Regions from separate parts of the Homo sapiens genome. Here region 1 is linked to region 2. The links are contacts of gene promoters, found by promoter capture Hi-C in blood cells and fetal thymus (Javierre and others, 2016). All regions are on one chromosome and are shown on one strand. Each heading gives the region's core, a stretch centred on a gene start or on the middle of the fragment in contact. The rest is flanking DNA. Distances are from core to core; before and after follow the strand shown.

Region 1 (5,915 bases), core at 1,073-3,572, 47 kb after region 2:
AGTAAGATCAGAAGTGAGATCCAGATGCATACAAAGTTCTGGGAAGACGTCTCTTCAAAGCTATTTGAAAGAACTGTGCTTTAGGAGATAAAATACCTAAACAAGCAAATCCTCAATTTCTTTACACAGACTTTCTGTCATTAGTGTATTCTGAGTGTATTATCTCATTCCTTGTATGATCACAAGGATAAAGTAGAAGTATTAAGACTTTCAAAATAATCAGGCAATTAAACACCAATGGTCTAACAGGCAGCCAATTAGCATAAAAGAAGGTGGTGGAGGTGGCATATTTTAAACTTAATTAAACCTTTTGTAATTATTCCTTGTTCAGAGTTCATCTTAATCTTGATTCTTACTTAAACTACATCTGGAATTTCTATACTCCTGTTTACTTTTTCTTCTACTCCCAAACTGAATTCCCACTGGGTCCTGTTTAAAGGTATCTGCTCTATCATTTATACCTAGTGACTGTGTCAATTCCCAACAGTGTTAGGCTGGTAAGTAAATTGGATCCTGTTTGTCCTTTCCTTTCCCCATCAGGAAAAGAAACAACCATCTGCTATTGTGTCTATCAACCACGTCAGATACCGAAGATGTAGTTCATTCAGGGATTAAGAATGAAACGGACCCCTGCCTTAACTGCGCCAAGAACTCTGCTGACAGATTTCTTGAGCTCTTTAAAATAGAAGTGCTTGATGTTTAAAATGTTATCTTTTCTATGTTGAAAACCTGATCTTTGCAAAGACTTCCCCTTTCAGTAATGAAAAAATATAGGAAACATCCACTTGGGACACTGAGCCACTGCCAAGTCTATAACTTTTATTAAAATCCTTTAATATGTAAAGTTAATAGCAATGTCATCTCATTCAATTCTACATAAATAAAGTATCACAACCTAAAACTCCAGGATTCCATGAAATTCTTCTGCCTTCCAGACCTACCAGATATCTGAAAGGACTCACTCTTTACCCACTAGGTTCTGAATTTTGACTTTCAGATGACCCAGTCAATTAATCTTAATTGTATGTGTCTGGCTAAATCTTCCCCAGCAGCGGTTTCCCATTACATATGCCTATTATTGGGATACCCCCAGGTACCAACATACAATGTACTTTTATTCCCAGCTGTTGCTCAAGTTAACTCTTCTCCTGAACTCAGGTGAAGTAGATGGCAAATATGTGTGTAACTCTGCTACTTTAGAACGTATGCTGAATTTAAACTCTAATTAATCAACATCTGGTGACTCACTAGTAATTTTCCAAAGCAAACTACAGATTATTTTTAATTCTGTTGACACTTGCAAAAGAAAAGTATCACTAGGATAAGAGACTGACTAGTGGCTGGGCGTGATGGCTCATGCCTTGTAATCCCAGCACTTTGGGAGGCCGAGGCGGGCGGATAACAGGAGGTCAGGAGTTTGAGACCAGCTGGTCACCAGTAGAAACGGTGAAACCCCGTTTCTACTAAAAATACAAAAATTAGCCAGGCGTGGTGGCACGTGCCCGTAATCCCAGCTACTCGGGAGGCTGAAGCAGGAGAATCACTTGAACCCGAGAGGCAGAGGTTGCAGTGAGCCGATATCACGCCATTGCACTCCAGCTTGGGCAACAAGAGTGAAACACCATCTCAAAGAAAAAGAAAGGAAAAAAAAAGACTGACTAGTTATGATGATACGATGATACTAGGGTTCCTTTAAAATAATTTTAAGATAACTTTATGTGTACTAAATGTTTTGCATTGGTATATTTAACAAATTAATCCACATCATGATAAAAATGTTTTAAATCACACCTATATGTATAAATATGAACAGAATGATATATCACCAAGATGTTCCCAATCAGACCATGGCTTATCAATGTCTAACACATGGAAATAGGTGGTAGAGTGGAAAGAAGGCTGACCAAGGAGCCAGGTGACCTGCATTCCAGCTGGGCTTGGCCTTTCTAATTAGCTTAATGCAGGAAGGGCCTTGGAAACATTATCAGCTTGGCTTCAGTTTCATCACGTGTAGAACACGGAGGGTTAGACCAACCGATATTAAACCACTGAAATAGACTGGAAAATTTAATTCTTGTAGAGCAGAGGTTAGCAAATATTTTTCGTACAAGGACAGACAGAAAATATTTTTAGCTTTTCTGGCCAGAGAGTTTCTGTTACAACTACTCACCTCTGCCACTGTAGCACAAAAGCAGCCACAGACAAGAAATGAATGTAAGACTTTGTGCCAGTAAAGCTTTATTTATAAAAACAGGTAGCTGGGTGGGTGCCAACCCCCTGTTGTGAATAGTATCAAATCGTATTTCCTATAACACAGTTCCCTGCAAACTCAACACAATCAGGAAAAATCCTGTTTCCAAACATTGTTATTAATAAACCAGGAAAGATCATGTATAAAACAAAGCTTATCATCTTCCCAGACTCTCCCTTGTCCCTCCACCCATTCTTTCTTCTAATTAGCAGCAGAGCACCACTATTCTTCCAGTCTCCCAAGCTAGAAGCCTTATGAGCCTCTTGAAGGTATCTCTGTACATCCTCCTCTGTTTTTGCCCGGTCAGCAAGTCCTGTCCTTTGTCCTCTTGCTGGCTACAATCTCTTGTCCTAAACATAATACATATTCTTTCTGTCTAGTCTTCCTAAAACACCACTTCAGACATGTCACTTCCTAACTGCAAAGCCTTCTTAATTTCTACTGCATCAAATCTAACCATTAATGCAATGGAGTTTCCAAGCCCTTCTTTTCCAACCCCAACAGGTCTTATTTCTCACAAGACTTCAATAACCACTCTGCCCTAAGCAGGGTATTTATTCTCCAGTGGATCCCTGCAAAGTACTCATTAGTACCTGTGCTTTACTACCATTCAGTCATCTCCAAACCATTCTTTCCACCCATCCAAACCCCACCATTACTTAAAGCTCCAATTCAAGGATCAATTTTTCTATAAACACAGAATTCTCTATCTTTACACTTCTACTGAATTTAGGGCAGTAATCATTGAGCTTAGTACTTCTCTTTCTGTAACTATTTTTGGCAAACAAACTGGGCCATACAGTTTGCTGTATTTGCCAATGCCTAATACAACATTAGAAACAAAACGGGTTTTAATTAAGCAAAGGCTGAGAGAGTAAAGTTGTTATTATTACAGGATGAGGAATCAAACCCAAAATGTAGTGTTTTGCTGCTGCTTTTGAATTGTTTTGGCATGTGTCAGGTGCTGAGAATAACCATTACTACATCTCAGTCTGATTAACTTTCCCAAACATAAAATACTGCAGCTGCTATTAGAGGTAAGCAATCTATCTCCTTACACTACCTGATACTGCAAATAAATAAATTAGCATACAGGTTTATAGTTGGTCTCTTATGATCGCCTTTTTTTTTTTTTTTTAAGACGGAGTCTCGCCCTGTCGCCCCAGCTCGAGTGCAAATGGCACGATCCTGGCTTACTGCAACCTCTGCCTCCTGGGTTCAAGTGATTCTCTTGCCTCAGCCTCCTGAGTAGATGGGATTACAGGCGCACACCACCACACCTGACTAATTTTTTGTATCTTTAGTAGAGACAAGGTTTCACCATGTTAGCCAGGCTGGTCTTGAACTCCTGATCTCATGATCTGCCCGCCTCGGCCTCCCAAAGTGTTGGGATTACAGGCATGAGCCACTCTGTCCAGCCCATATGACTGCTTTTAAAAATGTAGATGAAGTCATAGGAGGCTATCTCTGTGTATACCACATTGTTTCTCTGTGCAAATTCAGGTTTCACCTCTGATCAATCTTGACTTCGACGGATCCTCCCTAGTTCTGCACCCCAGGCTTAAAGAATTCTTATACTAGGGTCTATGTTTGTAAGGTGTCTAAAATATGCCAAGAACTGTGTTAAGTGCTTTAGATATTATCACATTTAAACTATCCAGCCATTTTGTGAGACGGCTACTACTGTTGTGCCTACTTTATAGATAAGGAAAATAAAGCTACCTGGCCAAGGCTGTATGGCTAGTAAATGACAATGTCAAGATTCAAGCCTACATATTTTGATTGTTGCTTTCACTTCTCTAGATGTCTTGTGAAAAACATACTCTACCTAAGCTCCTCAGTAAATCCAGTCCAGTAATGAGCCACCCACAAGCCTCAGAACTTCAAAGTCCCCTCCCATCTTTTCTGAAGTTTCCCCTCTGGGTAAACAAAAGAAATAAAAACTTGCCTGCACAACAAGTCTACTTTAAGAACCAGAATCCAGAAAGAACCAGAAGGTTGGCAGTGACAGTGAGTTGGATCATGTACATGAGATGTGTGAGTGTCAGATTAATATGTATAAAAGCAAAGCAGAGGCAGATCACCTTGGATTTAAACCCTGGGCACACCACTTACTGGACATCTTACTACTATGCGCCAGTAATATCATCTCTCAGAGCCTCAGTTAATTTCTATAAAATTCAAAGTTTTTTTGTTTTTGAGACAGGGTCTTACTCTGTCATCTAGGCTGCAGTGCAGTGGTGTGATCTCAGCTCACTGCAACCTGCACCTCCAGAGCTCAAGCAATCCTCCCACCTCAGCCTCCCGAGTAGCTGGGACTACGGCACATGCCACCACGCCCAGCTAAGTTCTGCATTTTTTTTTGTAGAGATGGGGTTTCACCATGTTGCCCAGGCTGGTCTTGAACTCTTGGCCTCAAGCAATCTTCCCTCCTCAGCATCCCAAAGTGCTGGGATTACAGTCATGAGCCACCACACCTGGCCTAAATTAATAGATTTTTATAAGGATTAGATACCGACACATTTAAAGCACACAGCACAGTGCTTGGAATAGACAAGTGAGCAATAAATGTTTTCTGCAGTTATATTTAAGATTCAAGTAGAAAGTCTGAAAAGACAGGCAGTGCAAAGCATTTTATCCTTTGATTTCTTTATCACCAGAAAGTCTAACAAATAAGAACATTTATTAATGAGGCCCTAGGTCATAGCTTCAATCCCCATTTGAGGAAACTACATGTTGTCCACTTCATAGCCACCAACTGGCTGTTTCATCTCTGCATCCCGTATCTGTGCTCCTGTGTAAGGTCATTCCCCAAAACAAAGATGACTAGCATTCTGTCTCTATCTATACTTTCCCTGCCTAGACAATCCTCTCAGATTCAAGTTACTACTAAATCTCAAAGACCAGGCCACAGTGCTTCCAAGTGGAATGTTGCTAACCCAATATCCATCCCAGAATAAAGTCTGTGAGCACTTGAAAAAATACGTTAGTTGATAGAAATGCAAAGACTACTAGGAGCCAGGACAGAATCACAAATTCCTGGAGTCAGTATTTTGGCCACTGGGAAGTATCTTAGATATAAGTACATCTTAAATTTCAACAAGGGGCCAGGCGTGGTGGCTTACGCCTATAATCCCAGCACTTTGGGAGGCTGAGTCAGGCAGATTGCTTGAGGTCAGGAGTTGGAGACCAGCCTGGGCAACGTGGCAAAACCCTGTCTCTACTAAAAATACAAAAATGAGCTAGGTGTAGTGGCGCACGTCTGCAATCCCAGCTACTCAGGTGGTTGAGGCAGGAAAACTGCTTGAACTCAGGAGGTGGAGGCTGCAGTGAGCCGAGATCACGCCACTGCACTCCAGGCTGGGCGACAGAGACTCTGTCTCCAAAAAAAACAATTTTCAACAAAAAAATCTGATAAAAGATTCTCACAGTGGGAGATATGATCTGGGCCATAGCAGGGGGTCTTAGCCATTTGAAATAACTATTGACCCAAGCACTGATCCAGGATGCAATCAACCTATACAGAAATCTGAATCACAACACTGTACTTGGTTTCATCTTGGTTCTTATTTTTATAAATATACAGATAGCATAACTATATTTCAAAATAAAATAAAGCTGAGAGAGAGAAATATAAAATCACAATTTTAAAATTCAAAAAGAC
Region 2 (5,688 bases), core at 2,125-4,624:
ACTTAACTATTTCTTTAAGGAACTACCAGTCTGCCAATTAAACAGTCAAATCAGGCCAGGTACAGTGTGGCTCATGCCTATAATCCCAGCACTCTGAGACGGTATGGTGGCATGCAACTGTAGTCCCAACTACTCGGGAGGCTGAGGTGGGAGGATCATTTGCGCCTAGGAAGCAGAGGTTGCAGTGAGCCAAGATCACGCCACTGTACTTCAGCCTGGGTGACAGAGCAAGACTGTGCCAGAAGAAAAAAAAAAAAATCCAGGCAAATTCAACATAATGAGATAAGTACTCTGACAGGAATAATGATAGAATGCTACCCTATCCACATTCGTCAGGCAGGGAGTTTCAAATGGTTGCTTAGAAGACATGACATCTCAGCTGGATCCTAATGGAAGAGGATCTTTTTCCTACCTGGCTTCAGGGTAATAGTTCCCATATTCTATAGTTTTCAACTGACTAAGCAGTTATGTTTCTGTCTTTTTTGCTCCACAGCCGTTACTATCAATAACAAAGGTTAAGAAAGCATTCTGGGACTTGTAAGTGTGGTACCCTCTTTTGTGTTACAAAAATATGAAAATGAAAACAACCAGACAGACTGTCTCTCCAAGAAGTAAATTACTCACAGTGCCTTCAGTCTCTGAATAGAGTCCTGACCAGAAGCTGAAAGTGCTTTTATCCAGTTGATAGAGTCGAGATTTCTCAAATGTTTCAGAATCCATGATCTGTCCTAACTCCGGTGGTACATGAGTTGTTGTTTTATATATCCTTCTCTGAAATATTTTAAAGAAAACACTTTAGTGAAATAGTTGTTTATTACAATAGTCATTTATGATCAAACATCGAATGGTTTATAGCTTGCCACTTATATCTGTTGAATTTGCTTTATACCTACACAAATATTGCACTTGATCAAGTACATGAAACGACTGATGCAGGAAAATAAAAGCAGAACAAGAGAACCTGAGGTGACCTGACTGGTAAAACTATAATCAGGGTTGTCATCACACTTCAGTTTGTATATGTAAACCAAAGCTGTTAACATCACAACTTTGTTACATGTACTACTCATTCTGGGTATTACATACCTCCTATAATACGGAAAACAAATTCATGCAAAGGAGAAGCACACATGCTAACTGTGAGTATGAACAGATACTGAGGCTGCTCATTAAATTTGGTCCTAAATGCCAGAAACTTGAGGATCACCAGATGGAAACATATCAGGTCTGTGAGAAAAGACCAATTTTCAGCCGGGCACGGTGGGTCACGCCTGTAATCCCAGCAGTTTGGAAGACAGGGGCAGAAGGATTCCTTGAGCCCAGGAGTTCAAGACTGGCCTGAGCAATGTGGTGAAATCCCGTCTCTACAAAAAATACAAAAATTAGCAGAGTGTGGTGGTATGCACCTGTGGTCCCAGCTATTTGGGGGGCTGAGGTGGGAGGATCACTTGAGCCTGGGAGGCAGAGGTTGCAGTAAGCCCATATTGTGCCACAGCACTACACCCTGGGTGACAGAGAATCTATCTCCTTAAAAAAAAAAAAAAAAAAAAAAAAGGAGAAAGATCAACTATCTCATTATACTAAATTATAAAAGGTAAGGGTAATTTCAGTCCAGGAAATGTAATACAGAGAATGGATACCAAACAAAATAATGGGCCACTACAACATGCTTTCCCTATATATTGTTGTGTGCCAATAAAAGCTGAGGGGAGATCGAGCACGGTGGCTCATGCCTGTAATCCCAGCCCTTTGGGAGGTGGAGGCGGCAAGATGACTTGAGTCCAGGAACTCCAGACCACCCCGGGCAACATCTCTACAAAAAAATCAAACAATTAGCCAGGCACAGTGATCCGCACCTGTGGTCCTAGCAACTCAGAAGGCTGAGGTGGAGGTGGAGGGGTCGTTTGAGCCCACGAGTTCGAGGCTGCCTTGAGCTATGATGATGCTACTGTGCTCCAGTCTGGGTGGCAGAGTGAGCCCCTGTCTCTAAATACAATAAATATTCTATCCTGGCCAAGATGGTGAAACCCCGTCTCTACTAAAAATACTAAAATTAGCTGGGCGTGGTGGCACGTGCCTGTAATCCTAGCTACTCGGGATGCTGAGGCAGGAGAATCATTTGAACATCCCTCCCTCTGCGCGCTGCTGGCAGTGTCACAGACACACTCTTCCCCTTGCAGACTCTCCCTCGTCCCTCCTAGTTTCTTGCAGTGAGCCGAGATAACGCCACTGTACTCCAGCCTGGTGACAGAGCTAGACTCTAAAATTAAATAAATAAATAAAGATTAAAAATAAATAAATAAAAGTTCAGATCTCTAAACCATGGTTATCTCAGGTAAATTGTTAACTTTCACTTTTTATTTTACCATTTTAATATTTAAACTAAAATAATGTTGATTTTATGAAAAACGAGAAATATATTTCATTTAATTTCATTTATTTATTTATTTTGAGATTGAGTTTCACTCTTGTCGCCCAGGCTGGAGTGCAGTGGCACAATCTCAGCTCACTGCAACCTCCGCCTACTGGGTTCAAATGATTCTCCTGCCTCAGCCTCCCAAGTAGCTGGGACTACAGGTGCGCGCCACCACACCCGGCTAATTTTTCTATTTTTAGTAGAGACGGGTTTTCGCCACGTTGGTCAGGCTGGTCTCGAACTCCTGACCCCAGGTGATCCGCCCGCCTCGGCCTCCCAAAGTGCTGGGATTACAGGCATGAGACACCACGCCGGGCCCGATAAGTTTTTTGTTTGTTTGTTTGTTTTTTCAAGCAGAAACAATATATGCACTTTAAGGAGAAACAAGAGTGCAAGTTCTTGGAAGGACTGCAAAATCCTATGGTTAGGCATGATTACATAAATGTCATGAGGAAGTTGGGTGTCTAAATCCTTTTAAAGGCTTATTCCAAAGATAAAGGAGGCCAAGTCTGGGCCCAAGGATCCCAAGGAAGCTGCAGGGAGGGCACAAGAGCCCAAGCCTTCCTCCAGGCCCTAAAGGGATTGGGTCCCATGATAACGTTACAGAAAACTTCCTTGACGCACCAAGACCCTCCTCAAAGCCACAGTCCGCCATCGGGCCAAGTTACGAGACTCAGCAGGGACCACAAAGACGAGACTGGCGCGGGGACCGAAGCAATCAAGAGTCTCAGGGTCGAAGCCAAGGCTACTCCAGGGCTGGCCGGGTATGGGGGTCAGGTTGGACCCTGTCTAGGCTCACCTGCCGCTGTGCTAGGAAGGTCTCCCAAAGATACACTGTCCAGGAAAAGAGCAGCACGGCCCCGAAGATACGCTTCTCGGCCGGCATCTCCCACAAAGCGTCCAGCGATGCCCACATCCCCATGGCCACCCGGTTCCGCCGGCTCCTTCAGCGTGCACCGGTGCCACACCGACACTCGTCCCTTCAGAGCGTCCCCGCGGTGTCACAGCAATATCCGTTCTTTCCGAGGGCCCCTACGCCGATACCCGCCCCCATCCCTCCCTCTGCGCGCTGCTGGCAGTGTCACAGACACACTCTTCCCCTTGCAGACTCTCCCTAGTCCCTCCTAGTTTCTACAGGAAAAGCCCCAGCCCCACCTTCCTCACTTCCGGCCCAAAGAGGGCGGGGACCCAAACGCCGAGTTCCGGGCCCGGCTGAGCTGTGTTGCATCAACATTCTTCCCCCACGTCTTGACGCTGGGTTCCGGCCTAGGGTTCTGGCTTTCCTCCTGGGCTAGTGAACGCGGCGAAGTCCTCCTCTTTCTAATCTCCAGAGCCGCAGTTCCATCCTCTGGGTCAGCGGCTTACCCTGACTGGGCTGCGGTATCTGCCTTCCTTCCCCCAACAAGGCGACAGGTAGTCGGGGCTGGGGCCGGAACTGACTGAGTGGGCCGCAACTGACTGAGTGGGCCGCGGCTCCCGCCTGAGGAGGCTAGGAAGGACTGAACAGCAGCCGACTTCCCAGGCTCTAAAAATCGTGCCTCTGAGTTAGAGCTACCTCAAAAGCAAGACCAAGCATGAGAAATGGAGTCTTTTGGCCAGTATTGGGGTGTTCGGAATTCAAGCGTATGAGAGAGTGGACGGTAGCGTTGAGAATTTTCATTTGAAGATCTCGTCTTAACCACCCCAAGTGTAGTCAGAGGCGGCGTTTTCCCTGCGAGAGTGCCCTGGAACAAAGCAAGGATAGCGTGGGTTAGACATACCTGAAATGAAAGCGTCTTACTTTATCTAGGTACATATTTGCGTCAGTAAGGCGCAACGCCATTTCTCTCTTGGAATTCAGAAGTGAAATATGGTGACTGGGACGCCTGTACATTGCTTTGACTTAAAAATTGAAGTCCATTATTCTGACCGAAAGTTAATCTGATGATTAATTGGTTAAACATACTATCGTTGCTAATTAGCATAATTATTATTTACAATAAAGTGAGCTAAATAGCTACAACTAAAATATATTTAAATTACTGTGATATTGTGATGCTAAAGATGTGTTGAAATTAATATCTTGAATTTCTCAACCCTGCCTAAATGCCTCTGAGAGTAATTAGTATAATTAAAAGTCACTAGAGAAAGTGAATGACTCTAATAACAGGATAACAAATTCTTTTCAAGTCAGATGGTTTCCAGTTCTTTGCTTTCAACAAAATTAATGGTGGCCCATGAATTGTCAGCTGATGAAGGAACACTATTTGGTTTTTGGCATGCAACTCGGAAAGAAACCAAACGATTGATTGACATGCTTACAACAAAACTACTAGCATTCTCACCTATTTATGTAAAACCATTTCTCAGCACTTGTATCTGTGAAAACAACAGAATTGAAAATGAACCCTGTTAATCTACCAGTAGGAACTATTCATCCAGATAAATGAATTAATTGGTGGGTCAGCCCCATCTATCTCACTAAGAGATGTGTTCCCAATAGAATTTCACCTTTTATAACTGTGTGTTATCAATATTTGCAATCGTGTCATTTTGATCCATTATATACTAAAGATGATTGTGATGATTACTCACTTCAGAAGAATTCCAGCGTAGAGCCATAAAGTTACACGAAATTTTTTAAGGTTTACTACATATGTCATATTTTTATTGCGAAGAAGTGATCAAGAAAAGGTTGTTCAAACATCAAAGTACTATATTTGAATAACATTTTTTGTTAGAGTACAATCTAAATATGTTAGAGATAATAAAAGAACAATGTTGAAGAGCTCATTAGTGTATGTTTTAATGCATAATGGTGGTTATTCAGTTGTTATGTAGATTCTCTTGGATACATTATAAAGAGTGATTTAACAGTTTTATCTTAAAATGTCAGTATTTACAATTTGCAAGAATTTACATCCATTGCAACTATTTGAATTTATGATGGAACCAGTTAGATACCAACTTAAATATATAAGGGGTAAACACTTTTTCAAAATTTTCTCTCCCTCAGGCCATCATTGCTATGCCCTCTTCACTCTTGACTTCAGCTGTCTGTGAGTCCAAAGCCTCACAGGAGCTTCTACCACCCAAGCTTTGTGGCTAAGGGCACAGGTTTAGAGTCAAGCTGCTTGATTGCCAGCCACGGCCGCACCATGTATTAGCACGTTCTTTAATCTGTGCATCAGATCCTCATCAGTAAAATGAGAATAACATAGTATGTACTTACTTTCTCATACTGTTAGGATCAAATGAGAAAATTCATGTAAAGCTCCTAGCAATGTAGATGG

What was found. The method cuts DNA at HindIII sites, captures the fragments that hold promoters and counts their contacts. A CHiCAGO score of 5 or more calls a contact.
Region 1: a contact is called between a fragment that was not itself captured here and the fragment with the promoter of ZMPSTE24 in region 2, in 4 of 17 cell types (naive B cells, megakaryocytes, naive CD4 T cells and 1 more). The highest score is 6.7, in naive B cells.

What each region holds. Positions count from the first base shown.
Region 1 is chr1:40,207,352-40,213,266 of GRCh38, reverse strand. All of the region lies in intron 5 of RLF (RLF zinc finger), which reads right to left. Among named protein-coding and RNA genes, the nearest start is that of TMCO2, 38 kb to the left of the region's middle. The HindIII fragment of the contact is 168 bases long and covers 2,239-2,406 here.
Region 2 is chr1:40,255,922-40,261,609 of GRCh38, reverse strand. It overlaps ZMPSTE24 (zinc metallopeptidase STE24), which reads right to left and starts at 3,374. Exons shown (of 10, transcript NM_005857.5): 1 at 3,216-3,374; 2 at 625-771. The coding sequence starts at 3,338. RefSeq lists enhancers at 2,964-3,063, 3,154-3,433, 3,514-3,783, 4,014-4,143. The HindIII fragment of the contact is 15,848 bases long and covers 1-5,494 here.